Linked DNA regions of Homo sapiens: regions 2, 3, 4, 5 and 6 are each linked to region 1. Evidence: promoter capture Hi-C in 16 types of primary human blood cells and fetal thymus (Javierre and others, 2016). All regions are on one chromosome and are shown on one strand. The core of a region is centred on a gene start or on the middle of the fragment in contact, and the rest is flanking DNA. Distances in the headings are between cores, read along the strand shown. Region 1 holds the start of CFAP36 (cilia and flagella associated protein 36). Region 2 overlaps CCDC88A (coiled-coil domain containing 88A). Region 3 overlaps CCDC88A (coiled-coil domain containing 88A). Region 4 overlaps CCDC88A (coiled-coil domain containing 88A). Region 5 overlaps CCDC88A (coiled-coil domain containing 88A). Region 6 overlaps CCDC88A (coiled-coil domain containing 88A).

The links. Contacts are between HindIII fragments. The CHiCAGO score rates a contact against its expected background, and 5 or more counts as called.
Region 2: a contact is called between a fragment that was not itself captured here and the fragment with the promoter of CFAP36 in region 1, in 3 of 17 cell types (M0 macrophages, M1 macrophages and M2 macrophages). The highest score is 8.2, in M0 macrophages.
Region 3: a fragment that was not itself captured here is called in contact with the fragment with the promoter of CFAP36 in region 1 in 3 of 17 cell types (M0 macrophages, M2 macrophages and M1 macrophages); the score reaches 9.0 in M0 macrophages.
Region 4: a fragment that was not itself captured here is called in contact with the fragment with the promoter of CFAP36 in region 1 in 3 of 17 cell types (M0 macrophages, M2 macrophages and M1 macrophages); the score reaches 9.4 in M0 macrophages.
Region 5: a contact is called between a fragment that was not itself captured here and the fragment with the promoter of CFAP36 in region 1, in 4 of 17 cell types (M2 macrophages, M0 macrophages, M1 macrophages and 1 more). The highest score is 10.4, in M2 macrophages.
Region 6: a fragment that was not itself captured here is called in contact with the fragment with the promoter of CFAP36 in region 1 in 3 of 17 cell types (M0 macrophages, M2 macrophages and M1 macrophages); the score reaches 7.0 in M0 macrophages.

What each region holds. Positions count from the first base shown.
Region 1 is chr2:55,518,468-55,522,533 of GRCh38, forward strand. CFAP36 (cilia and flagella associated protein 36) reads left to right here and starts at 1,251. Exons shown (of 10, transcript NM_080667.7): 1 at 1,251-1,449; 2 at 3,635-3,699. The coding sequence starts at 1,335. RefSeq lists enhancers at 552-601, 1,782-2,031. The HindIII fragment of the contact is 7,670 bases long and covers 1-3,102 here.
Region 2 is chr2:55,371,438-55,376,193 of GRCh38, forward strand. CCDC88A (coiled-coil domain containing 88A) reads right to left here. Exons shown (of 33, transcript NM_001365480.1): 4 at 3,377-3,446; 5 at 1,015-1,073. Among named protein-coding and RNA genes, the nearest start is that of CCDC88A, 46 kb to the right of the region's middle. The HindIII fragment of the contact is 573 bases long and covers 3,221-3,793 here.
Region 3 is chr2:55,291,468-55,295,577 of GRCh38, forward strand. It overlaps CCDC88A (coiled-coil domain containing 88A), which reads right to left. Exons shown (of 33, transcript NM_001365480.1): 32 at 209-308. The coding sequence ends at 244. Among named protein-coding and RNA genes, the nearest start is that of MTIF2, 24 kb to the left of the region's middle. RefSeq lists a silencer at 3,066-3,360. The HindIII fragment of the contact is 5,061 bases long and covers 1-4,110 here.
Region 4 is chr2:55,313,426-55,317,547 of GRCh38, forward strand. It overlaps CCDC88A (coiled-coil domain containing 88A), which reads right to left. Exons shown (of 33, transcript NM_001365480.1): 21 at 3,781-3,924; 22 at 2,503-2,689. LOC124907768 (a long non-coding RNA gene) reads left to right here. Exons shown (of 3, transcript XR_007086323.1): 2 at 563-826. Among named protein-coding and RNA genes, the nearest start is that of MTIF2, 46 kb to the left of the region's middle. The HindIII fragment of the contact is 7,677 bases long and covers 1-4,122 here.
Region 5 is chr2:55,330,067-55,334,567 of GRCh38, forward strand. CCDC88A (coiled-coil domain containing 88A) reads right to left here. Exons shown (of 33, transcript NM_001365480.1): 15 at 4,028-4,501; 16 at 2,500-2,627. All of the region lies in intron 2 of LOC124907768 (a long non-coding RNA gene), which reads left to right. Among named protein-coding and RNA genes, the nearest start is that of MTIF2, 63 kb to the left of the region's middle. The HindIII fragment of the contact is 5,094 bases long and covers 614-4,501 here.
Region 6 is chr2:55,347,773-55,352,181 of GRCh38, forward strand. CCDC88A (coiled-coil domain containing 88A) reads right to left here. Exons shown (of 33, transcript NM_001365480.1): 9 at 1,746-1,827. Among named protein-coding and RNA genes, the nearest start is that of CCDC88A, 70 kb to the right of the region's middle. The HindIII fragment of the contact is 9,265 bases long and covers 1-4,409 here.

The DNA.
Region 1 (4,066 bases), core at 1-2,500:
AAAAAAAAAAAAAAAGGCACATAATGATCATCTTCATGCATTCAGGTAAGATACTGTGTGCACATTCACAAAATAAAAATAGACTAAAGGATGGTTTATGGAATACTATGCAGTTGCAAAGAAAGCACAAATTTATATTTTTAAAAGATAAAGATATAAGAAAAAAATTCATAACTGTACATATAATCCTATTTATGTAAAAAATATATATATATATATGGTTGTCTGAAGATATTTTGGGACTCCAAACACCTTCACAATGACCACTGAAGACCCCATTCCACAATGGACTCCACCTAAATGCTGAGTTGGAGTTATAATAAGATTTGGTTACCAAGGCATTTATTTAAGTGAGTATTAACTTTGCTCTTGCCCTTGAAAAGCTCCTAATTCTAGTTATCTTTATCCAAGCGTAAGAGATTAAAGACCCGCCTGAAGATACAGATGCAAACTGACCGTAAGACAATCAGCGAGTCTCACACAGCTCGGCTTTGTATTTTCAGACAACCCTTTAATTACAAACGCCTCTGGGCCAATGGTCTGAAAATGGTTGGGACTGAGGTGCTGGGGATACAATGATGAACTGCAGCCGCTGAAGCCCTGTCAGGTGGAGACCCGGTTACCTCAGACCCTCACTGAGCCTTTTCTTTTTTCTTTTCTTTCTTCCTGTTTTTCTTTTGAGACGCAGTCTCCCAGGCTGCAGTGCAGTGGCTCACTGCAACCTCGGCTTCCCGGGTTCAAGCGATTCTCCTGCCTCAGCCTCCCGAGTACCTGGGATTACAGGCGGCGCCACCACGCCAGGCTAATTTTTGTATTTTTGGTAGAGACGAGGTTTCACCATGTTGGCCAAGCTGGTCTCGACCTCCTGACCTCAGGTGATCCGCAAGCCTCGGCCTCCCAAAGTGCTGGAATTACAGGCGTGAGCCACCGCGCCCGTCTACTGCGCGTTTTCTAAACCTTGGCTCCTACGCATTTATCAGAAGAGAGAGCGCAATCTGTCTATGACTTCCAGCCAATAGCTACACTTCTTTTCTCAGCCCTCGTCCACTGTTCTTTTTTAACCAATCAGAAACGTTTTTCAAACGTTTGCCCTCCCCGCTAAGTGCGCAGGCTCCTGGAAAGTTGTCTTCACTTCCGGGCCGCGGTCTAGGGCGGCTACGTGTGTTGCCATAGCGACCATTTTGCATTAACTGGTTGGTAGCTTCTATCCTGGGGGCTGAGCGACTGCGGGCCAGCTCTTCCCCTACTCCCTCTCGGCTCCTTGTGGCCCAAAGGCCTAACCGGGGTCCGGCGGTCTGGCCTAGGGATCTTCCCCGTTGCCCCTTTGGGGCGGGATGGCTGCGGAAGAAGAAGACGAGGTGGAGTGGGTAGTGGAGAGCATCGCGGGGTTCCTGCGAGGCCCAGACTGGTCCATCCCCATCTTGGACTTTGTGGAACAGAAATGTGAAGGTAAAAACCAGAGCCCGAACCGACAATCCTTTTCTCCTCTCTCACACCAGCGGCGGGCAGGGGGTTGGTAACCACAAGCCATCTCTCGTCTCCCCGACCCCCTGTCTCCACCCCTGTCGCAAGGTCTCGTTCCCCTCACCACCTTCTCCACCCGCGTCATCAGGTTTAGAGCTGGTTGTGTGGGAGGAATTCCTTTCACCCTGCCAATGTGTTCCTTCGCAGACCTGAAAACGGGGACCGAGACTCCCCTTCTCTGGGGCCGAAGCGCACGTCCGAAGAACATTAGACTTGAATCGTAAATTCGGTCTCTCACCCTGTCCCGAACGTTTCTGCCCTCGGCAGGTGGACTGTTTGGCTGGGCTTCTTCAACAGCTTTGCCAGACTTGAGAGGAGAAGCGTCGGTTTACCTGAGTTCCTTATGATCCCTAGCATTTCGCCCGGTGTAGTCAGCTTAGGAAATGAGAAATGATTTCACTCCAAACCAACAGTTAACTGCAAAGGAGGGCATGTGATAACTCCAGGAAGCCCAGAGCCGGTGATTTTGGTGGCCTGTGTTCCCCTTGGTGAGCTCTCTACTCTTCGCTATACCAAAAATTGGCGAGGTGGGGCAGGACCATTCTTGGAACAAATGAGGCGTATAGATATGGCATAATATTCCCCGTGAAGGACAGGCATCTCCGGGTTCTGAGCAGTTCTTCAGGCTTGGAGTTCTGCATTCAGTTCGTGGAGACTATTTGCAGCCCATTCGCAGAAAAGGAACCAGAAACCACGTCATATAAATGAGTGCCCAAGCGTTATTGTGGTTGTTTAATCGGGCAAGACTTTGAGGGTAGTAGTATTCATCAATTATTTGAACATCTGCTTTGTGTTGTAAGGTTGAGTAGAATAGAGCTAGGGTCAGTTGGTACAAGCTACAGGGAAACAAATTTCAGTGAAGGAAGTGTTTCATGATAGAATGTATCCAAGATGAGTTAGCCAGCCTCAGAAGGTAATGAGCTTCCCGGCTCCAGCAGTGTTTGAATGGATCTGATAGCGACTTAATAGGGTTAGAGGGATTCAGCTATTCAGCTATCAAATGGTCGGTTATCCTGGATGACCTTTTAAGACTTCTTTAAATTCCAAGATATCATGAATCTGGTAAAGATGAAATTCAGTTTGACCACTGAATCTTTTCATTACATTTTCATTGCTATAATCAATATTCAAATCGTAGTTATTAAAGTGTTATTTTTACAGGTAATTTTTTAACAATGTTCAAAAACAAAATAACTTGTATTTGTACTCCTTTTTTTTTTTTTTTTTTGGGAGACAGAGTGTCGCTCTGTTGCCCAGGCTGGAGTGCAGTGGCGTGATCTTGGCTCACTGCATTGTTTTATACATATGATCATTCAGTAAACACTTGTTTTGATTTTATTTAACTTCATTATTTATCTGTGGTAACAAAAATTGCCTGGTCACTTTCAGTAACATTTACATCAGCAAAATTCCAGTACAATAAAATAATATGGAACCTATTGTAAAAGGATTTAACCATTAACAATAATATTACATTAAAAGTTATGAAGAAATTATTGCCTCATATTGATTGAAATGTGTTTTTGTCTTAAATATGAGGTAGTATTCATTTTAAATATTTTCTCAAGTAGGCAAAAAAGCTTGTTTACAATTAATAGTATATATGTGTGTGTGTGTGTGTGTGTGTGTGTATATTTTTTTTTCTTTTTTTTTTTTGAGATGGAGTCTCACTCTGCCGCCCAGGCTGGAGTGCAGTGGTGCAATCTTGGCTCACTGCAACCTCCGCCTCCTGGGTTCAAGCAATTCTCTTGCCTCAGCCTCCCGAGTAGCTGGGTCTACAGGCGCGCACAACCACGCCTGGCTGATTTTTGTATTTTTAGTAGAGATGGGATTTCACCACATCAGCCAGGCTGGTCTCGAACTCCTGATCGTAGGTGATCCACCCACCTTGGCCTCCGAAAGTGCTGGGATTACAGGCATGAGCCACAGTGCTCGGCCAATAGTATATATTTTTAGATATATTCATTTATATATTTTTAAAAGATAAACCCTAAGAATTCAAAGCTGAAGAGCTAGGTTGACAGTTCTATTTGGAAGGAGTGGATTTTTAAATTTGCATTAATAAAATGATTTGGTTTTTACACTATGTAATATTTTCTTTTAAATTTAGTTTTTGATGATGAAGAAGAAAGCAAATTGACCTATACAGAGATTCATCAGGAATACAAAGAACTAGTGAGTATTTTTTTTCACTGATTTTTAAAAGTAATTAGGCTAATACTACTTATAGCTTTTCTAAATGAAGAAAAATATTTTTACATTAAAAATCCTTAATTTTACAAAAATCCAATCTACCTTAACAATAGTGCCAGTTATATCTGTCTCCACAGGTGCTCTGAATATCTCATTTGGATGACTTATCTCCTCTACTCTAAGGAATGGTTTTACAACTCTTTATGGGTTCTTGCATGTATTCTTTATATCTTATTCTTATTTTGTTGACGCATCCAGGGACATATTAATTATTCACTTCGTCATGGTTGTCATGTGATTTTTTTATTTTTTATTTTTGAGACAGGGTCTTGCTCTGTCACCCAGGCTG
Region 2 (4,756 bases), core at 2,257-4,756, 140 kb before region 1:
CCACAAAGAAGTGAGACAGTTTAAAATGACACTGTAATAATTCATCCAAAAAATGGCTGAAATGAAAAACATAGTATAATAGATTTTGAAGTCAGAGCAGAGTTGACTCACAGTTCTTTGGACTACTAGCAATATGACCTAAATTTAAACTTAGAGTAATCATCCTGGTTTGCCTGGGACAGTCCCAGTTTACACATGCCATTCCACTGTAATTATTATATGTATTTAAAACAGAAATGGGGTTTCATTATGTGCCCAAACTGGTCTCAAACTCCTGGCCTCAAGTGATCCTCCCATCTTAGCCTCTCAAAGTGTTGGGATTACAGGCATGAGCCACCACGCCTAGCCCACTCTATAATTATTAACAGTACCTTCTTTGACTTTCGCAAGTGTCCCAATTTCGATAAAAACTTAAATATTACCCTACCCAATCTCCTGACCTGAAAGAAGATATTATGAGAAAATCTATGTAAGGGATAATATCTGACACAAAGTAGGTATTCTATAAATCATAGCTATTATTATAGTCATTGATCAAAGAGCAATATAATAATAAACAAGATTCCTAAAACACTTTTCATAAATTCTGCCTCCTTTTTTACCTTTTTTTTCTTTTAAATAAATTCTGCCTCCTCCCTTCCCTTCTCTTCTCCCTTCCCTTCTCCTGAAACATACACGAGTACAACATAAATCACAAGGATGTTTTGGGAGCGGTTTTTAAGGGCACCTCTGAAAAAACCTCAAAAATTTAAGGTCATTATAAGCCTCAGAATAAGGAAAAGAGTAATTAAATATTTTAAATGATATGACTATGATAATGTAACTAAATTCTGAAATAAAATAAGTGGTTTTTTTCAATGTAATCTCCTTAGGAGGTTATACAGTTATTGAAAATTTTCTAACATGGACTTTGAAAACCAATGGTCCATCCTTAAGTCTTTCAGAAACTACAGCCTGATAAAAATATATAAAGAGGTTGTTAAAATGAAAATATGAAAAAATATTTTAACTTACCTGAACTGCACAACCCAATAAAAGTAAAAGCAGTTTTTTAACTTCTTCTGTGCCTTGTTCTAAAATAGAAACAATTATTAAGGACAACATTCTGCTATATTTTCAACTCTATTATATTTGGAGAATCACTTCTAGAGGTAATTATGCACAGTAACTTGAGTGAAGGATTCAGTCTAAGCATATGTAGTGGAGCATTCAAAATAGCAGCTCTGTGTATGTACACGGTGGTAACAGCAGAAGAAATGGGGAAGAATATCAATTTTGAAGGGCTAATGGATAAAGAGGTTTCAAGGCTCTGTGCAACAAGTATGCTAACTATGAATCTACTCCTTTTCCATAAATGATTGTACTACCCCAGCCTGACAAATCAAGAACCTGCCAAATCAGGTTGATACAGGGACATGCCACAAAGGTAGCCAAAATGGCTCCTAATAGGTTTGGCTCCTCTTAGGCCTATTAGTGTTTTCTTACTTAAAACACAGATCTTATGATTCATCTCCTTATAAAATTTAAATGGTTTTCCACTGTGCAAGTTCATGAAGACCAGAATCTTAAATGTCTGTTACAGTGAGGCTGTTAAAATAAATGTATATAACAAGTCAGGTAAAAGTTAACAATCTATAACAGAAATGGAGAGAATATTCCCTGTCCAACAGCATTCAACTAAGATTTTCTTAAAATATTCAACTGGAAAAAAATCACTTCTTTGGGCCAGATTTTCACCACTGGGCCAATCTGTCTATGAAAAAGTCCAAATCTTCTTATCAGACATTTCCTTCTACTCTCCATGAAACAACCTACTTTCTAGCTATGCTGAGCCATTAATCACCATTCTTCCCAAATATGCATATATACAACTCCTCTGCCTTAATACTACTCCCTCTGTCTGTCCTCCTTCCCCAACCTCCTCATCCCCCTAGTGAACTACTTGCTAATCACAATCCTAGGCACAGCTCTTATCATCTCTGTGTAGTCTTCCCTGATCCAATCATCAATGGTCCCCCACTCTCACTTATACGTCAACTTTAAGAATAATTAATGGCTCCAAATTTTATATGCCAGAACATTTGGTACATATTTTTACTTCATACTAATTATTACATGATTTCCCCATAATCTGTGTATCCTTCACCAAACCATAAGAGCTTCTAGAACATAGACCATTTATTTCCACTCCTGGTCCCAGTAACTTGGTAGGTACTTACCAAATGTATGTACGATGGGAAACAATTCCATCCTACACGCAATTTTTTTCATTTTTAAATTTATATAATCAAACATCCCATGGTATCTCTAAAAACTAAGCTGCTAATTCACACATCTAATTAATAGTTTCCTCTATAAAAATAGCTACTTGATTTTAGTTTTTATTTTGGTTTTGTTTGTTTTGACTGAGAGGGGGTATGGGCTGAAGAAAATACACTAATTTGGATAACATGTAGACTGTAAGGATAAGCCCATTGTTGAAACTGTTAGGTAGCTGCTAATTTCCTCAACTGTTCAAAAATTACAATTCTAAAATATCACATTTAAAATGTGGTATAAAGGGCAGAACATTTTGAAGAAAAAATTAAATGATCTAAGAAACTGCCTCTCATCTTTCCATTCAGAAGAAGTTTAATATAAATTAAAACATATCAGACTGGGCGTGGTGGCTCATGCCTCTAATCCCAGCACTTTGGGAGGCCGAGGCGGGCAGATCACCTGAGGTCAGGAGTTCGAGACTGGCCTGGCCAACATGGTAAAACCCTGTCTCTACTAAAAATACAGAAATTAGCATGGTGACCACGCCTATAATTCCAGCTACTTGGGAGGCTGAGGCAGGAGAATCGCTTGAACCCAGGAGGTTGAGGTTGCAGTGAGCCAAGATCATGCCATTGCACTCTAGCCTGGGCAACAAGAGCGAAACTGCATCTCTAAATAAATAAATAAATAAATAAAACATATCAATCAGTAAAACTTAAGATTCAAACAATTTTGGCAATGGTAGATAGTAGATATATGAATAGAAACCTGGAAATTATTTCAAAATCATTTCTTTTCTAAGGTAATATTCTTTTAAGTTTGTAACTACATCATCTTCTATACTTCTCTATAATGAGACACTAAAAATCATCACAAAAGTATCTGTTTGGTATAGTAGAAAAAATACTGAATTTAATGTAAAATTTATGTCTGGTCTTACCTATAACTTACAAATATTCTAAGCTTGTCTCTTTCTATAAAATGGAACATCACCTCCAACGTCTACAGTTGTGAAAAATCTAGTGAGTTAATGTATATAAGCTCTTAGTAAAAAATAAACATCATAGTATTACACAAAGGTTAGACATTACTTTCACAGCTTAATTTTAATACTTACCAGAAAAGGGATTTTTGCCAATGATTAAGACATTTGGCAACGACATCATGATCAATTGCTGCAAAGTCTCCTGTAAAAAAATATCCAACACTTGTTATATGGGTAATGCTAACTAGATAATTATTCATCAAGCTATAACTTATGATTTGTACATTCTTCTGTAGGTGTGCTATATTGCAATTAAACAAATATGGAAAAAGTTATATAAGGTCTTAAATCTTTTGTAACTTCAATGAATTAAATAACTAAAATTATAATACCAGATAGACTTCAGTTAATAATATATGAGGCTGGGTGCGATGGCTCATGCCTGTAATCCTAGCACTTTGGAAAGCCAGGGTGGGAGGATCACTCAAGATGAGCCTGGGCAACATAGTGAGACCTTCATCTCTACACACAAACAAATAATAATAAAAAAGCTTTAAAAATATCAGATGTCCCCAAATTAAAGCATTCAAGTCAAAATGGTCTAATTATTATTTGGAAATCTGAAGTTTTAGGTGCTAGAAAATTAAGAAACATTCCTCAGTAAAAGATCGAGCAAAATTAAGAAACATTCCTCAATAAAAGTTCGAGCATGTGTGCTCTTTTTCTTCTTGTTAGTTCTCACTGAGGAAACTAAAAATACATCAAATTTATAAGTACTGTCACTGTACTATATATATATATATATATATATATATATATATATATATATATGTATGTATGTATAAATATGTTGGGTTTTTTTTTGAGATGGAGTCTCGCTCTGTCAGCCTGGCTGTAGTGCAGTGGTGTGATCTTGACTCACTGCAACCTCCGCCTCCTGGGTTCAAGCAATCCTCCCGCCTCAGCCTCCCAGGTAACTGGGACTAGAGGCGCCTACCACGATGCCTGGCTAATTTTTGTATTTTTAGTAGAGATGGGGTGTCACCATGTTGGCCAGGCTGGTCATGAACTCCTGACCTCAAGTGATCCACCCGCCTTGGCCTCCCAAAGTGTTGAGATTACAGGCATAAGCCACCACACCAGGCCATATTTTTAATATAATAAATAAGAGAGCTATATTTTTAAAATGTCAACTGATATTAAAATTAAGAAACCTAACTGCTTTATTAAAAATGCTGTCTAATGATCATTTCATGAAAGTCAGTTCCTCCTCAGTGAAACATTATTTCTCTCCTCTACAACAGATGTTTAACTTCTATAAAACTTTAGTTACAAGAATACATGTAGATTCTGAACGTACAAGGTGATTCAGAAAGAACTGAATTCTTTCTAATTCTTCAATTTAGTTAATACATCAAGTATGCACCTTCTGTTTATACCACCTCTTCTTTGAAGAAATGAAGAAATACATTGTATCTGCCATTACAACCACTGACACTGATGATATGCAAA
Region 3 (4,110 bases), core at 1,023-3,522, 230 kb before region 1:
TAAAAAAAAATACTTGTTCCTTGCGCTGACAGGTAAAAACCTATGGCAGCCAACTAATCTTGCTTCACTAGTAAGTAGAACAGAAAGTCAATGAATTAAGCAAGCAATATTTACATCTGTTAATGCAATGTGCACTTGTTTCACACTTAATTTGGTTAGTTTGTATAAATGAGACTAATCTCATTTACATTTTAAGCAGGAAACTCACCACTTGGCCCACATGTCATGTAGTGGGTAATAGAATTAGGAGCTTTGTTGCTCCCTAGACCTGCTTTTTGAATTTCTGCTTTCTTGTACTTTGTCCACATCTGCAGGAGAAAAGCATTTCATGTTATTTAGTCAAAGATGAAACAAAATACAATTCAGAAGATAAGAAATACACTCTCACTGAGTAGGGCAAGGAGAAGGAATCTGTAACTGTCTGGGAAAATTATTAATCTCATAGGCATCTCAATACTTAAAGATCGATTTTTATATTTTAAAGCTATAAGTAATATTCCTAGGAAAGCTATAATTTTTAAAAAAACTATAACAATTACATTTCCCCCCCTCTTAGTGCCAGATAGCCTTACTATGTTTATTTACTAAATGGTCACCTACAGTCTTAAACATAATCTTGCATGTAGTAGCAAAACCATCTGGAATGAAGTATTTGTATTATTTACTAAGAAAACCAGGGCTTGATGCATATTTTATAGGCAAATAATGTTCCTCCTTACATTGGTTAAAGCTAAAATTGCTTTGGTCAAAGGGGATGCAGTGCATAAGAATATGTTTATAATTTCTAGAAAGCTAGGCCAGGAATACTGAAAGCTATCCAGCTTCATCATTTATAAAATTAGGGTACTGAATCTTCGAATAGTTTTACAAATAATCCTTTTGAAAACTGGAGGTGTCTTAGAGGAAATAAGTGCAATTGCTCAATTGAGTCAGAGTTGTTTCACTTTTACTTTAAATGAAATTCATTTTTTAAAATTTGGGGCATCTATGTAAGATTTCACTTACAGAAAGTATTGTTTTTTTTCTTAAATGTTTGGGACACATCGGTTCCATATGATTTCTAAGGTATTTTCACCACTAAAAATTTGATTCCAAATGCTATGAAAAAACGTTGATAAGAACTAGTGTTGTGGCCAGTCGCAGTGGCTCACGCCTGTAATCCCAGCACTTTGGGAAGCTGGTCAGGAGTTGGAGACTAGCTTGGCCAACATGGTGAAACACCGTCTCTACTAAAAATACAAAAATTTGCTGGGCGTGGTGGCATGCTCCTGTAATCCCAGCTGCTTGGGAGGCTGAGGCAGGAGAATTGCCTGAATCCAGGAGGCAGAGGTTTCAGTGAGATGATATCACGCCACTGTACTCCAGCCTAGGCTACAGAGTGAGATTCCATCTCAAACAAACAAACAAAAAGAACTAGTGGTGTTTTGGGGGGAATTTTATGACTCCACAGCAGGTGATGATTTCTGAAGTCCAGACTGTATTTTCCAACAGTCCTCAGGACACATGGACATGATACATATTTCTCTTATATGCACAGTGTATTTTTTTTTTTTTTGGAAACATGCTGCATATAAACATATAGCTTTTTGGGTAGGAAATAGTTCTTTTCTGTAAGTCTAATTTTGTAAAATAATCACATAATTTTAATATAATAGCATGTGATTTTTCAATGAATTTTGAATGAATAAATACAATATTTTGAAGTGTTATGGTCAGAATTATGATATCTAAAAAGTTGAAATAGCTGTGAAATAATCTTTGACTCAGTGTGGAAAAGAAATAACACTAATTATAACATTTGTGTCATATACTGCCCCCATTTAATCTCAGCTATGTTTACTATTAAGTTTTGTTACTGGCCTATGAAAAAACAAAAGGGAAAATATTAGCACCAAATATATTTGAAATGTCAGGACTGACTGGGAAGTAACTGACAATAAAATAGAAGGATGCAAAAAGTATATTAGGTGGTACTAAAATATGACAATCCTCTGATTGTGTTCATTTGATTACCTGTACCAGAACCATTTTTTTTTTTTTTTGTAATAGCTATCGGAAAAAAAGTGTGATTACAAAGGAGACAAATTTCATTAGGAAATATTCTCTACAGATTTTTTCTTTGGTCCAGTTAATAACCACTTAATACAACAACAACAACAACAAGTATAACATAATTTCATCCCCACATGGTCACATTTGAAGGCATTCCTTCCAGGTGCCAGGCTGAGTCCTTATCAGCTATAGGCTAAATCCAAATGGCAAAAAACATTCCAGAGAGAATGCCAATGTGTATTTCTCTGGAAGTAAATGGATCAGGGTTATGGGTTTTTTTGTTTTTAGCAATCTGGGAGTTAGAGATTCAAATTTAGCTAATTTGCTTTAAAAGTGCTGTGAACACAAAAATAAAAGTTCTTTGCACTGGAGTCAAAGTTAACAAATATTTTCTTACTTTTTTTTTTTTTTTTAAGCTAAAGAGTGTATTTATTCTTAGTTCTAAAATTTGTTCTACTAGAAACATACTTGTTTAAATGGTTACAAGTTCTAATTTTACATTTTAGTGTGATTATTCATTTAAAAAAAATTCTGTTTTAAGGATATACATGTATAATTTAATAATAGATTAATTATAGAAGTAACAATTTTTACCACTTTGTAAACTTGCTACCCTTTTTGATTAGAAGTAAAAATACAAATTTCCAACACAATGAATATAATTTGGTTTATTTCTCTTTGACTCTCTATAAAAAAAGAACTGGAAAAACTATTGTATTAACTGATTTCAAGTATAGAAGCCATCTTGAAGAAAAGACAGTTACTTGAGCTCTTGTATTTATCAGATGATGAAAAGTGCAGAGAAGAAACAATAAATACAAATGTTCCTAGTCACTGTGTAAATCACATTTAAATTTGATGGGGTTTTCTAAGAATAACACTAAGTTTATAAGTATTAACAATCTTTTAAATCTGAAAAATGTTTTATAAATATGGGTATTAGTTAATATTTGTTATATAAAGTGTTGAATTATTAACTATTTCTTTAAAACAGGACAGATGGCCTAATTAAATGACAAAAGAAAACAACATCTTTTTACATTTTCCCTACTGATACTGTACATATGTAATATAAAGTACACATTCTGGAAGAAAAAAAGGAGTGACAGTCAGAGCAAGTGAGGGGTGGGAAGAGGAGGAAGGGAGGGAGGAAATGAACATTTTTTTCCAGAAGCAACAAAGCAAATATGACTTGGAAATGTCTTCTTGGTAAGAGAGCATGCAACTGTTTTAACATGCTTCTGGATATCAAAGTAACAATCTTATCAGGCAACAAAAAATGTGAAGGAGGAGCATGTATGGTTAAGGTTTTTAAAGGCATGCAGAAAATGGACAAAGTAATTAATATTTCATGCAGGTTTTGGTGTGGTTACACATTCACATTAATATACATGCCATCATGTACAGCTGAACACTGTGCAACAATTTTAAATAAAAAATAAAAACCTAGCCAAATGATATTTTGTTAACAGCAACTTTTCAAATCATATTAGAGAAGCAGTGTATATCAAATAACATCAATATATTATATTGTGCAGTTTTGATCATATACAACCATATTCATACCAAACAGTTTGATTATCCTCAGAAACCAACAATGCAGCTTCTGTGTCATCAGGATAGAGGCATGCAGAAGTGACAAGATTGTTGCTATTTATAGAAAACTGTAGGTTACTGTTACTAGGGTTCTGATGATCAGAAAACTGTTCATTTTCTTTCTGTGCAGGTTTATCCAAAGAGGCAGAAGCCTGGTCAGTTATTCTGATAACTGGCCTAGGAGGTAACCCACTTATGTTACTAACTAATTCTGTATTCAGGGATAAGAATGGCTGAGATGAATGGGCCACAGTAAATGGTCCTATGCTATCTTTTGCCAACATTCCGAATGCATCACTAGGCATCCTAATAGTGGCAAAAGTTTGGTTTAGAAAATGTGACCTTCCTGTTCTTGAGTTTCTAGCCTGGGCATATAGAGGCTCAGGCATGTCTATAGCTAAATCATTTTGGGCACAAGAACCTATAGTATGTGTTGGGATGTCAAGTATATGAGAGGACCAC
Region 4 (4,122 bases), core at 333-2,832, 200 kb before region 1:
AAGGGAAATCGGGTAATTTAGTCAATAGTTGGTATTAACAGCTGGCATTACTAGTAGGTGGGCTGCCAGCAGCATTGGGCCTTTTCTACGCAGTTAGTAGAAACTGGAAATATGCCTTAGCTAGGCCAGAGGTTCAAACAGAAGTTAGCAGAAGGCCCAAAGTAGTGATTCTAAAAATTTGGCGTCCCTTGTAGAGTAGATTTGTGGGCCCCAGCATTCAAATTCAGGTCTCGAGTAGAGCCCAGAGATCTGTATTAAAAAAGCAAAAGCAAATAACACATACCCGCCCTGCCTACACCACCACCCCGGCCGCCCCCCGCAAAAAATAAACATTTTGAAAAATTTCAAAAGGTAGAGAAAATCAGGGAGAATTATACTATAATCATAAACAACCATCTAGATCTGTAACTGTGAATATCATACTACGTTGGTTTTATTTATCTGTATGTTGTTAAATTGAAACATAACATATGTGGTAGATTCATTAAAAAACTGAATGCATTTATTTTCTTCCCTGTACCTATGCCCTCTTGCAATGTGACTTCTCACTTTTCCCGTAAAGAAGTGGAATCTATTTTCCTTCTTCTTGAATTTGGAATGCTTTTGGCCAAGAGAAAGAGGTGGAAGTGATGGTGTAACAGTTCCAAGTCTAGGCCTCAAGTTGCCTGTGGACTTCCACTCAGACTCTCAGAGCCCTGCTGGAGGATGGAGAGACCACATGGAACAGAGAAGGGTTATCCCACCGAGGCCACCATAGACCAGCCAGCCCTCAGCGTACATGCCAGCTAATTACAGATGCAGGAGCAAACCCCTGGCCCATACATCAGTGAGTAGATTAGCATAGATGCTCAGCAAACTCAGACTCATTAGGCAAAAAGAAATGTTTACTGTCCATTACCACTAAGGTTGTCTCGTTGTTAAAGAGCATTATCAGTGTCAATAGACAACTGATAAAGCATATATAAAGAAAAGAGAACAATTTTTTTTGTTTGTTTGTTAGATGGAGTTTCGCTCTTTCGCCCAGGCTAGAGGGAAGTGGTGCGATCTCGGCTCACTGCAACCTCTGTCCCCCAAGTTCAAGCGATTCTCCTGCCTCAGCCTCCCGAGTAGCTGGGATTACAGGCATGTGCCACCACGCCTGGCTAATTTTTGTATATTTAGTAGAGATGCGTTTTCACCATGTTGGCCAGGTTGGTCTTGAACTCCTGACCTCAGATGATCCACCCGCCTCGGCCTCCCAAAGTGCTGGGATTACAGGCATGAGCCACCGTGCCTGGTCCAAGAACAAATTTTAAGTGTATATAGAGCTCAATGAATTATCACAAAGTAAACATATATGTTAAACTAGCACCTGGATCAAGAAACAGAACATTAATTGTATTCCAGAAACACCTGTGCTATCTTCCAACCACTATCCCTTCCCACCAAGGTTAACTACTATCTCAACCTTTTATACTATAGATTAGTTTTTTCCACCTCCACTAAATCATGTCATTATATGACTTAGCCCTCAGCCAATAATTAACATTTGACCCAAATTGTGAGAATTAGCCAGGGATGCATAGATAGCTAGGGCCCTCTCTGGTCTCTCTTGAACAGTTTTCTGGACCACCAGTGACATGTGGAATCTTATGAAGACCCACTGAGGCTGACTCATTTCTTGAAAATCCTTTAATTTTTGACTGGTTTACTGGTCTGTTACTTGCCCCAACCAATATTTCAACCTCAGGCTATCTAAGAGCTGACCTTTGACAGCTCTCCCACGCATGGGGCTTTTCTATGCTCTGTTCCAAATCAAGTCAGTTTTCTCCAGTAGAAAAGTTGCTGTTTTTCACAGCTTGCCCTGTGCTCTGTCAAAACTACCAGGCACAGGAACCAGGGAAGGAGAAGAGGAATGGGAAGAACCCCAAGATAAAATGCCTCAGACAACCACAGTTCCTTCCCAGGGTTGAATAGTTTTGCTTTAATAAATGCTTCTCAATTTGCTATATGCCCTTGTTGGGTTCTAGAGTCCTAACAAGGTTGTTTTTGACAGTTCTGTCCAATTTTATTGTTTCTTAAGGAGTTGATTTGCCACATTTCTCACTCTACCATTCTGGAGGTATACCATCCTATAATTTATTTGGACTTTTATAAATCATAGGTAGAATGAATTACTTTCTGAGCTTTGTTGGGTAATTAATTGTATGTTGTTTCCAGCTAATTTTTCTATTGGTTTATAATTTCATGCCAGGTGTAAACATTTTTTCATTAAATGAATAATTTTACAATTTTCAAAGAATTTGGACATAAGTTTAAGCTAATAGTTTTTAAAATATTGTAATTAATGATATGGGAAGTTGTTCTGAATTACATGTAAGTTTCAGTGATCCTAGACCAAATTCTTTTAGATATATGCCACTAAATATATACTAGTATTGTCATTGTAATCTAGTCATTTATTTCTTAGGCATGTCTTGGTGCCTAAATGAAGGACACAGTGATTAAACTTTTTAAGCTCACCTCACACTGGTTATTCAGCTTGGTTGATGTAATATCCAATTGTTGGTATTGTTCCTTTAGTTTTGAAAATTCAGCTTCTAATCTTGTTTGTTCCAGTTTGGAATTATTCAGAAGACTTTTCAAATTTTTATGGTCAGTTTGTAAAACTTCAGTCTCTTTTAAAAGTTGACTATAGGTATGATTCAGCCTATAATTAGAAATCATAGAAATATAATTAGATTATCTTAATAGCTTTTGGTGTAATTTATACAATATGAAATGATATAAATAACATTAAGGCATACTTAGAATAAAAGACTGTTTTACAAGTTACTAAACTTATCAAAAATCAGTTTCTATTCTGTAAAAACTAGATTTTTTAAAATTCTGAGTACCTTTCCCTTGAAAATAATTTTTAATTTCCTTTTTTCATCCACCCATCTCCACACTGGGAAAAGAATTTTTTAGTCTTTAAATATGTTGAAGTATAGGTACTCAAAGTTTCAAGTATTAATAAGAAAGTATTGGCTGGTTATTGATGGTCCATGTCTGTAATCCCAGCATTTTGGGAGGTAGAAGCAGGAGGATCACTTGAGGCCAGGAGTTTGTGAGCAACCGTGGGGATCACAGGAGACCCTATTTCTACAAAAACTAAATATTAAAATAAAAAAATTAAAAATTAGCTAGGCATGGTGGTGTGTGCCAGCAGTTCCAGCTACCTGAGGGGCTAAGGTGGAAGGATTGCTTAAGCATAGTAGTTTGAGGTTGCAGTAAGCTATGATCATGCTACTGAACTTCAGCTTGGGCAAAAGAGTAAGATCCTATCTCTCTCTCTCTTTTTTTTTTGGAGATGGAGTCTTACTCTGTTGCCCAGACTGGAGTGCAGTGGCGCGATCTCGACTCACTGCAACCTTTGCCTCTCAGGTTTAAGCAATTCTCCTGTCTCACCCACCCAAGTAGCTGGGACTACAGGTGCACGCCACCAAGCCTGGCTAATTTTTGTATTTTTAGTAGAGACGAGGTTTCACCATGTTGGTCAGGCTGGTCTCAAACTCCTGACTCAGGTGATCTACCTGCCTCGGCCTCCCAAAGTGCTGGAATTACAGGTGTGAGCCACTGCACCCAGCCTATTCTATTTTTTAAAATTCCGAATTCAAACTATGCTTGGTACTACAAAGGGGCAGTATATAGTTTGGATGTAAGAAATAATACATAATTTTGAAAAAACATATATATACACATATATATGTATATACTTTCTATATAAAATGTTTGTTATATATAATATATATTTATTACCTATCATTTTCACCACAAAGTTTCTTGTATTCTGCAGCTACTGTTTCATGATTTTTATTTTCAAGCAGCATTTTTTCCTGTTCTACTTTGAGCATTTTTTCCAAATCTTCCAACTGTCCTTTCTGTTTTAATAACTGATTGTAACTGGGGGGAAAAAAGGCATTTGGTTTATAATATTTACAAAAAAGAAATTTTAGAAATGAAGGAAATGAGTAATGAGTATCATTTAAAACACATGTAAATTTATATAAATTTCTTATGTAAACTAACATTAGATGTGTTTAATATATAAAATTTATTATACTACTTGAAGAAAATTCATTTTAAATTCACAGTACAACA
Region 5 (4,501 bases), core at 1,911-4,410, 190 kb before region 1:
ATTTATTTCGTTGCTTTTAAATTTATTTACTTATACATTCGATTCCAAAACTATATATTCCTTGATGGCAAGAATAAGTATCTTAATAATAATTGTACCTTCAAATAAATTCAGAGAGAATAACATGAATTAGAAAGATGGGACAGTTAGGCCGGGCACGGTGGCTCATGTCTGTAATACCAGCACTTTCAGAGGACAAGGTGGGTGGATCCTGGGGTCAGGAGTTCGAGACCAGCCTGGCCAGTAAAAATACAAAATTAGCCAGGCATGGTGGTGCGTGCCTGTAATCCCAGCTACTTGGGAGGCTCAGGCAGGAGAATCACTTGAACCTCGGAGGCGGAGGTTGCAGTGAGCCGAGATTGTGCCACTGCACTCCAACCTGGGTGACAAGAGCAAAACTCCGACTCAAAAAAAAGAAAGACGGGAAACTTAGATTAATAGGAATTAGGGGCATCATTTGAGACTGATATACATAAATCCCAAGGTGGAGGGAATGGCACATTAAAGGAATTTATGTCTGTGAGTTTCTGGGTTTTTTTTGTGACATAAAGACTAACTTCCTGGCTGAGAAAGAAGCTAGTTTAGTAGTTCAAGCCACTTTCTATTTCCAAAAAGCTTTAGTTCAACATATACCCTTATCTCCATGCCTAATTCATTATGTAAATAAATATGTGGAAATAATGAATGGCATCACATGTTGCCTAGACTATTATAATCACTTCCTATCCTGTCTCTGTGCTTCCAAATTCATCCTTTTTGTAATCCATCTTTCATATACTCTAAAAATTGCTCAGCATACTTTTGTGCTTTTATACAAATGCTTTTGTCTACATGGAATGCCCTTTCCCACTGTTCCCACCTTGTAAACCTCTGTCATTTTTTAAGATTCAGTTGAAACATTATTACTACTTTGATGCTAGATGATCAGCAGATAAGAAGAGCTCAATTAACATTGGCTAACTGTATGAATTAAGGTTTGGGAAGAGGAGGCAAACTGTATGAAGGGTCCACCCAGAGCTGGGTTCATAAATTTATAATAGGGTCAAGTAGCACTACAGGGTGTATTCTACTTTTTCTTTTGCAAACAACATGCAGTACAGTGTCTTACATATAGTAGGTAATAAATCTGTTTGAATAAAGAGGGGATGCATATTCAGTATCTATATTAAAAGACAGTCAACGAAATCTGCACTTATCTGATTAACTCAAATAAAAATATTTCCTCATGAAATATCTGTACAATTAATTCAATAATCATTGCTTGACTTGAACTGATTGCTAGAATAAATGCCTCAAATTATATCTTTTTGTTATTACACAACTAACTTTTTAAGTGTCAATCTATCCTATTTACTTTGAACATTCTGAAAATTACATGAACAAATCCTATGTAATCACCATTAATTCTCCCAATATACATTTAATACAGAATATAAATACTGGAACAGTAATAATGAGTAGATAAAATATAAATTATATAATTACAAAAACTGAATGAAAATCTAGTCTACATAAAATAATATTCTTAACAATATACAACTTCTATTCCAGCTGGATTCATGGAGCTGACTGGATGCTAAATAATAGACTTGAAAATCAGATTAACTCTGTTTGATAGATTGTAATTACCATGAGAGAATACATATTTTTTTAAACCTATATTGATCATTTTTAAAATTAAAAGGCATAGAAGTTAATTTTTTATCCAGCTTTTAAGGCTTTAGTTTTCCACATTATTTTTATACCTCAGTTGCTTTTCTTTTCCTTTGTTTCATACTTTTCCTCCATTTATCTTTAAGTCAACATTTTGGCAAATAAAGAACAGAGATATTTAAGCACATGATTCAAATAAAAAATAACTTGCTTATTTTTGTTTGTTGTTAATGTCTTATTCTGTTTTTACAGTCAATTATAGCCTCTGATCTTCTGCTACCTGGGTGGCATCCTGTTTTCCTATTTTATAACTGTATTTATATAGTAACATTTTAGTTTTTTGTTTTCTTATATCTATATTAGATTGTCTATGATTCCTCTTTTCTCCTTACAGAACTTTCTTTTTTTTTCTTTTTGAGATGGAGTTTCGCTCTTGTTGCCCAGGCTGGAGTGCAACGGCACGATCTCAGCTCACCGCAACCTCAGCCTCCCAAGTTCAAGCAATTCTCCTGCCTCAGCGTCCTGAGTAGCTGGAATTACAGGCATGCACCACCATGCCCAGCTAATTTTTTTTGTATTTTTAGTAAAGACAGGGTTTCCCCATGTTGGTCAGGCTGATCTCGAACTCCCGACCTCAGGTGATCCGCCCGCTTCAGCCTCCCAAAGTGCTGGGATTATAGGTGTGAGCCACCGCACCCGGCTACAGAACTTTCCTTAAGGGAAGGAAGGAACCAGAAATAGGGTGAAATATATAAATGTTTTCTATAGCTAGTACAGAAAGAATTCATGTATGAGCAAAAAAAAAAAAAAATTTTCAACTGTTTGCCAAGTAGACTTAGTACTCACCTGTCATCAGTACTTTGTTCATCATGTAAGAGTCGCTCCTTATTTAACCCTATCTTCTCAAGCTCATGAGTTAATTTTTCGAGATCATTGTTCATCTGTTGGGTCTTCAACTTTTCACTCACCAAATCCTTATTTTAAAAGAAATGCAAAACTCACCTAAGTGTCAAGGGTATAAACATCTAAGAAAGTCAGCTAAGATTCTAATTACCACCATCTAGGAATACATGTAATTTGAACCAGGAAATGTCATTAAACCATTCCTTCATTATTAAAATGTAGTTAAAGTTATAACCTAGTTGAAATAACTTTTTTCCTTTTTTTTGCTAATACTTTAAACAAAACCTTAAAAGGGAGTAGTAACTCTTTACTTGTGAATACACATTTAGGTTTGAAAACTGGGGAAAATCATATCCATTTACTTTTTAATAATGAGCCTGAACTTTAGTGCACATTTCTTCTTATAAATATATGTTGACTATAATACTTCTCTCCCACAAGATCCCTTCTCCCAGTGAAAGAGGCCCTATGATACTGATCTGAAGAACTAGAGGATGTTCTTAGAAGTTTAGGCACAAGGAACTTGTTGTTCATGTTTATAAGTCTACAGAAGAAAAAAATAAAAGGTCCCTCTCAATGCTTCTTTAGCAGAAATGCAGACTGCCCAATGTGACCTTCTGCCAGAATGCTAATATACTTTTAAATTGAACTTAAAGGGTTATCACATATTATAATGCTTAGAGATGGGAAAAAAAGAGCCAAACATATACCTTCTGACTTGCATCAACCATGTTTCACAGGACATACTGCCAATTTACTCCTGTAAGTTTCAGAATTCTTCTTGATACATAGATTCAAGCAAATACTAGTTGCTCAGTGTTGAATGGTTGAACCTGATTTGCATTCTCTGGCTTTGAGGTCAAAATTCATGGGGCTTTGGAGTCTGAAAAATCTGGATTTGAATCCAGTAATCCAACTCTGCTATTTATTAGCTGTGTGATCCTAATTTATTTAATGTTTCTGAACCTCAGTTTTCTCATCTAAAAAATGGATATAATACTTATAAAGGATTAGTTGTAAAGATTATGTGCATGTATATATGTGTGTATATATATTTGGGTGTGTGTGTATATATTATTTATGTATATACAACTTATATGAAGTTTTTAGCCCAGTACTTGGCACACAGCACTCAATAAATAGTAGCTATCATGCTTCTTTATTATACTTAGAATTTAGTGTCTTGATCAAACATTATTATATTGAAATAAAGGTTTAAAATTATAATGTAATAAGTCAGATACCACTAGGAAACTTTATTACTACAAATTCTTTTAAAAATACAATTTATAGGTATTTCTTAGTTTAACAAAGTAGGAAACTTGGAAGCTATTTCTAGTTCTAATTCCAAAATTCTACTGAACCATAAAATAAATGATGCAAATTACTGATAGATTCCAATAAAACTTAAAGAAACCTTGAGTTAAAAATATAAAAAAAAATTTGCCTTAATTTAGGTAAACATATTTACCTCACGTAGTGTAACCAACGTTTTTATATCAATAGTTGCTCTTTTCACAAGCTCCTTATTTTCTTTTTCTAGTTCTTTCAGACGGACACAAGATTCTTTATATATACCAATTTCTTTGGATAGGGTTTTGTTTTCTTTTTCCAAATTTCCAATCTTCACATTATTTTCTTCTAATGTGGTATCTTTAATTTCTGCTTGTTGTCGGAGTCTCTTATTTTCCTTCTCCAATTGTTTCTTATCCTTTTCCAGTTGAGAAGTCTCTTGCTCTAATGATTTATTTTCTTTTTCCAGCTGTTCTAGTCTTTTGCTAGATATTTTTAGTTCTTCTAGGTTTTTCTGCAATGTTTGATTTTCCATCTCTAAGTCTTGTAGTTCACTCTCTAATTGCTGGATTTTTTTATTGCTGTTCTCTAAAGTTTTTTGCAGTCTTTGATTTTCTATATCTAAACCCTGGTAGCTAACTTCTAAGCGTTC
Region 6 (4,409 bases), core at 1,852-4,351, 170 kb before region 1:
AATTAATTTTTGTATTTTCAGTAGAGACAGAGTTTCGCCATGTTGCCCAGGCTGGTCTTCAATTCCTGGCCTCAAGTGATCTGCCTGCCTTGCCCTTTCAAAGTGCTGGGATTACATGTATAAGCCACCATGCCCAACCTAGTTATTTATTTTAGAGATGGAGTCTAACATGGAATGGGTTAATTTTTTAATGACTTTTTTTTTTCCTTTGAGACAGGGTCTCACTCTGTCACCCAGGCTGATCACTGGCACATTCACAGCTCACTGCAGCCTCGACCTCCCAGGCTCAAGTGATCTTCCCACCTCAGTCTCCCAAGTAGCTGGGACTACAGGCGAGTGCCCCATTACGTGCAGCTAATTTTTTCATTTTTTTGTAGCGATGAGGTTTTGTCACGTTGCCCAGGCAGGTCTTTAACTCCTGGGCTCAAGCAACCCACCTGCCTTGGCCTCCCAAAGTGCTAGGATTATAGGCATGAGCCACTGCGCCCAACCCAAGTGACTTAATTTTTTTTTTTTTTTGAGACGGAGTCTCGCACTGTTGCCCGGGCTGGAGTGCAATGGCGTGATCTCGGCTTGCTGCAACCTCCACCTCCCGGGTTCAAGCGATTCTCCTGCCTCAGCCTACTGAGTAGCTGGGATTACAGGTGCCCACAATCACGTCCGGCTAATTTTTGGTATTTTTAGTAGAGACAGGGTTTCACTACGTTGGCCAGGCTGGTTTCGAACTCCTGACCTCTTGATCCACCTGCCTCAGCCTCCCAAAGTGCTGGGATTACTGACGTGAGCCACCGCACCTGGCCAGACTTAAGTTTTTAAAACTTCATAGTTTTAGTTTCTAATATGGTAAATACCAATAGATATAATCCACATTAAACCAATCCTCATTAATTTTTAACAGTGGTGAGGAGGCTTGAGACCAAAAAGACTGCTTTAGAGAGAACCTTTAGAGAAAACTACTGCTTTAGAGAGAACCAACACACGTAAAAAAAACCCTGCTGCCAACAAGTAGAAAAGCAACCCCAGCATGTCTAGAAATAAAGACTATGAAGCCCAGTCTCATTTATCTATGAAGGTCCCAGTTTATGATCCTACAATTACAGTATTCCCTGCATCTAAAGTCAGGTATGGGGAAGTTAAGGGAAGAAACAACTATCCAGCCTTATCCTAATCCTTAGCACTTATGGATTAAAGAGCTCATACACTAACCCCAAATAAAAATGAAACATTAGAGTGATTGTAAAAGTGAACTATTAATTACTCTTGGTTTAAGGTGAAAAAAGAAGAAGCTGCTGTAAAATAAAGATACTTTTTAAAAAGTTTTAATCTTATTTAATAGGAAAAGTGAAAAAAATCAAAAAACATTCTATTACATATGAGTTAGCATAAAGCACTATCAGGGAGCAGAGACACAGAGAGATACACATAAAGAGCACAGTTTACAGTAGAGGTGTTCTAGCTTCCAAGGCCACAGAAGCCAAACACATCAAAAAGAAAAATGTGGAACTACCTCAGTCCTAAGTAGCTCTTTTGAATCTTAGCAGAGTTTGAACAGCATTAATATGGAAGAAAGTTTGGCTCTGACATTTTTGAAGAGAGAGACTCTGAAAAAGTCATCCAATCTCTTGAAGCCTCAGGAACCTCTTTTATTTACATAAAGCATTGAAGTAAAGGTTATAAATTACAAGGAAGAAAATCAATTTCCAATTACTTGGTGGTCCTAAATAACAGATATTCCAGGTACAAACCTCTTGTTGCAGCCTTTTGAGTTCTATTTCCATTTGCTCAAGTTCTTGTTTACAATCCAACAACTGCTCAGTCTTTTCCTCCCTTAAATGCAAAAATATATTCATTAAGTATACTATTTTTGAAAACTGTGATCATCATCTGCGTTAATATAAATGTATCATCATCACTAAATAACTAGTTGGACATAGTATTAGCCATAACCCTAATCTAGAAGATAAAAAAAAAAAGATAGATATTAGGAATTTATATAATTAGATGCCATTAATAAAACCTCTTCCCTAATGTTTTCCAAAGGCTAATGTTCTCATAGTATGTAATACAGTTTTTCTCTTTCTCTCTTTTCATCTTTCCTGCCCTTCCATTTCCACTCTTCTTTCTCTCTTCCTCACTCTCTGCAGTCACAGACAGTTAAGCTAAGAATTTTTTTTGAGACGGAGTCTGGCTCTGTCACCCAGGCTGGAGTGCAATGGCGCAAACTTGACTCACTGCAACCTCTGCCTCCCAGGTTCAAGCAATTCTCCTGCCTCAGTAGCTGGGATTACAGGCGCCGGCCACTATGCGGGCTAATTTTTTTATTTTTAGTAGAGACGGGGTTTCACCATGTTACTCAGGCTGGTCTCAAATTCCTGACCTCAGATGCCACCCGCCTTGGCCTCCCAAAGTGCTGGGATTACAGGCGTGAGCCACCGTGCCCAGCCTAAGCTAAGAATTTTTATGCAAGGCAGTTCTACCTGTGTCTAAGATTTGTAAGGGTCTCCAACTATTTTCAACATTTACAATGGCTGAAAGGAAATTACATACTTCCAATTGCCATATGATACTAAAATCTTTACTTCGCTATTGGTTTCTGCCCTGTAGCCTATAAACATCCTCAAATTTCTTCTATTAGTTTTTCTCTTAGAATTGCTTTACTTCTAATCTCCCATTTTCTCTCTCTCCTTCACAGTCAAGCTCCTTAAAATAAGCCTCCACTTACTATCTCTACTTTTCTACCTTCTGTTCTTTAATAATAAAGTAAATGTTCACTGTATAGAACTTATTGTTCTCATCTCGTGCCCTTACATTTTTCAAAACCATTATATATTAATATATATTATAAAATATAATGTGTATATTATTTAAAATATATTATTAAAATATATGTATGTATATATTTTAAGAGACAGGGTTTCACTCTGACGCCCAAGCTGGAGTGCAGTGGCATGATCACAGCTCACTGCAACCCTGAACTCCTGGACTCAAGTGATCCTCCTGCCTCAGCGTCCGGAATAGCTGGGACTATAGGCATGTGCCACCACTTCTGGCTAATTTTTTGTAGACACGGGGTCTCACTCTGTTGTCCAGGGTGGTCTTGAGCTCCTGGCCTCAAGCAATCTTCCTGCCTCAGCCTCCCAAAGCACTGGGATTACCGGCATGAGCCATGGTGCCCAGCCCAAAACCATAATTTTTAATGGTAGAAAAATATTCCCTTTGCTAGAGAAACCATACTTTACTAAGTGGATTCCATTTTTCATTGTACTATATAATCTTTTAGTAAATAAGCTCATTACTATACATAAAATCCTGTGTATTTCAGGATAGTTTTCTTTTTCTTTTCTTTTTTAAGAGAGAGGATGTCACTATGTTGCCCAGCCTTGCTTTGAACTCTTAGGCCCAAGAATTCCACCTCAGCCTCTTAAGTAACTGGGACTACAAGTGCACACTGCTGTGCCTGGCTTTTAGGACAGATTTCTAAAAGTGCATTACAAGTTAAAAGGCATTTGAAACACATTAAGTATCCCTTTTCTGAACTGCTTGGGACCCAGAAGTATTTAGAATTTTTTTCAGGTTTTTTTTTTCCTCCATTTGAGACAGAGTCTGACTCTGTTACCCAGGCTAGAGTGTAGTGGTGCAGTCCCAGCTCACTGCAGCCTTGACCTCCTGGTTCAGGTGATCCTCCTGCCTCAAGCTCCCACGTAGCTGGGACCACAGGCACATGCCACCACACCCCTAATTTTTAAAAATTATTTGTAGAGACGGGTCTCCCTGTGTTGCCCAGGCTGGTCTCAAACTCCTGAGCTCAAGCAATCCTCTTGCCTCAGCCTCCCAAAGTGCTGGAATTATAGGCGTAAGCCACCATGCCCTGCCTCATTTTAACCATTTTTAAACATATAATTCAGCAGCATTAATTATGTTCACAATGTTGAATGTTGGCCATTCATCTGTTAACATGCAGAATTCAAAACAGATGTCTACAGAAAAACATGCACCTGAATGTTCATAGCAGCATTATTCATAATAGCCAAAAACTGGAAAGAATTCAAATGCCTGTCAACCAAAAAATGGCTAATCAAAATGCGGTATATCCATTCAGTGGAATATTACTCAACTCTAAAAAGAATAAAGTATTGATACATGCTACAACATGGATGAACCTGGAAAACGTTATGCTAAATAAATGAAGCCAGTCACAAAAGGCACGTATTGTATGATTCCATTTATACAATAAAATGTCCAGAATAGGCAAAGTCATGGAAACAGAAAGCAGACTAGTGATTGCCAGGAGCTGAGGGCAAAGGGGGACAGACAGTGACTGTTACTGAATATGGGGTTTCTTTTTGTGGTGATGAAAATGTCATGAAATTGGTGTGTGGGCTGGGCACAGTGGCTCACTCTTGTAATCC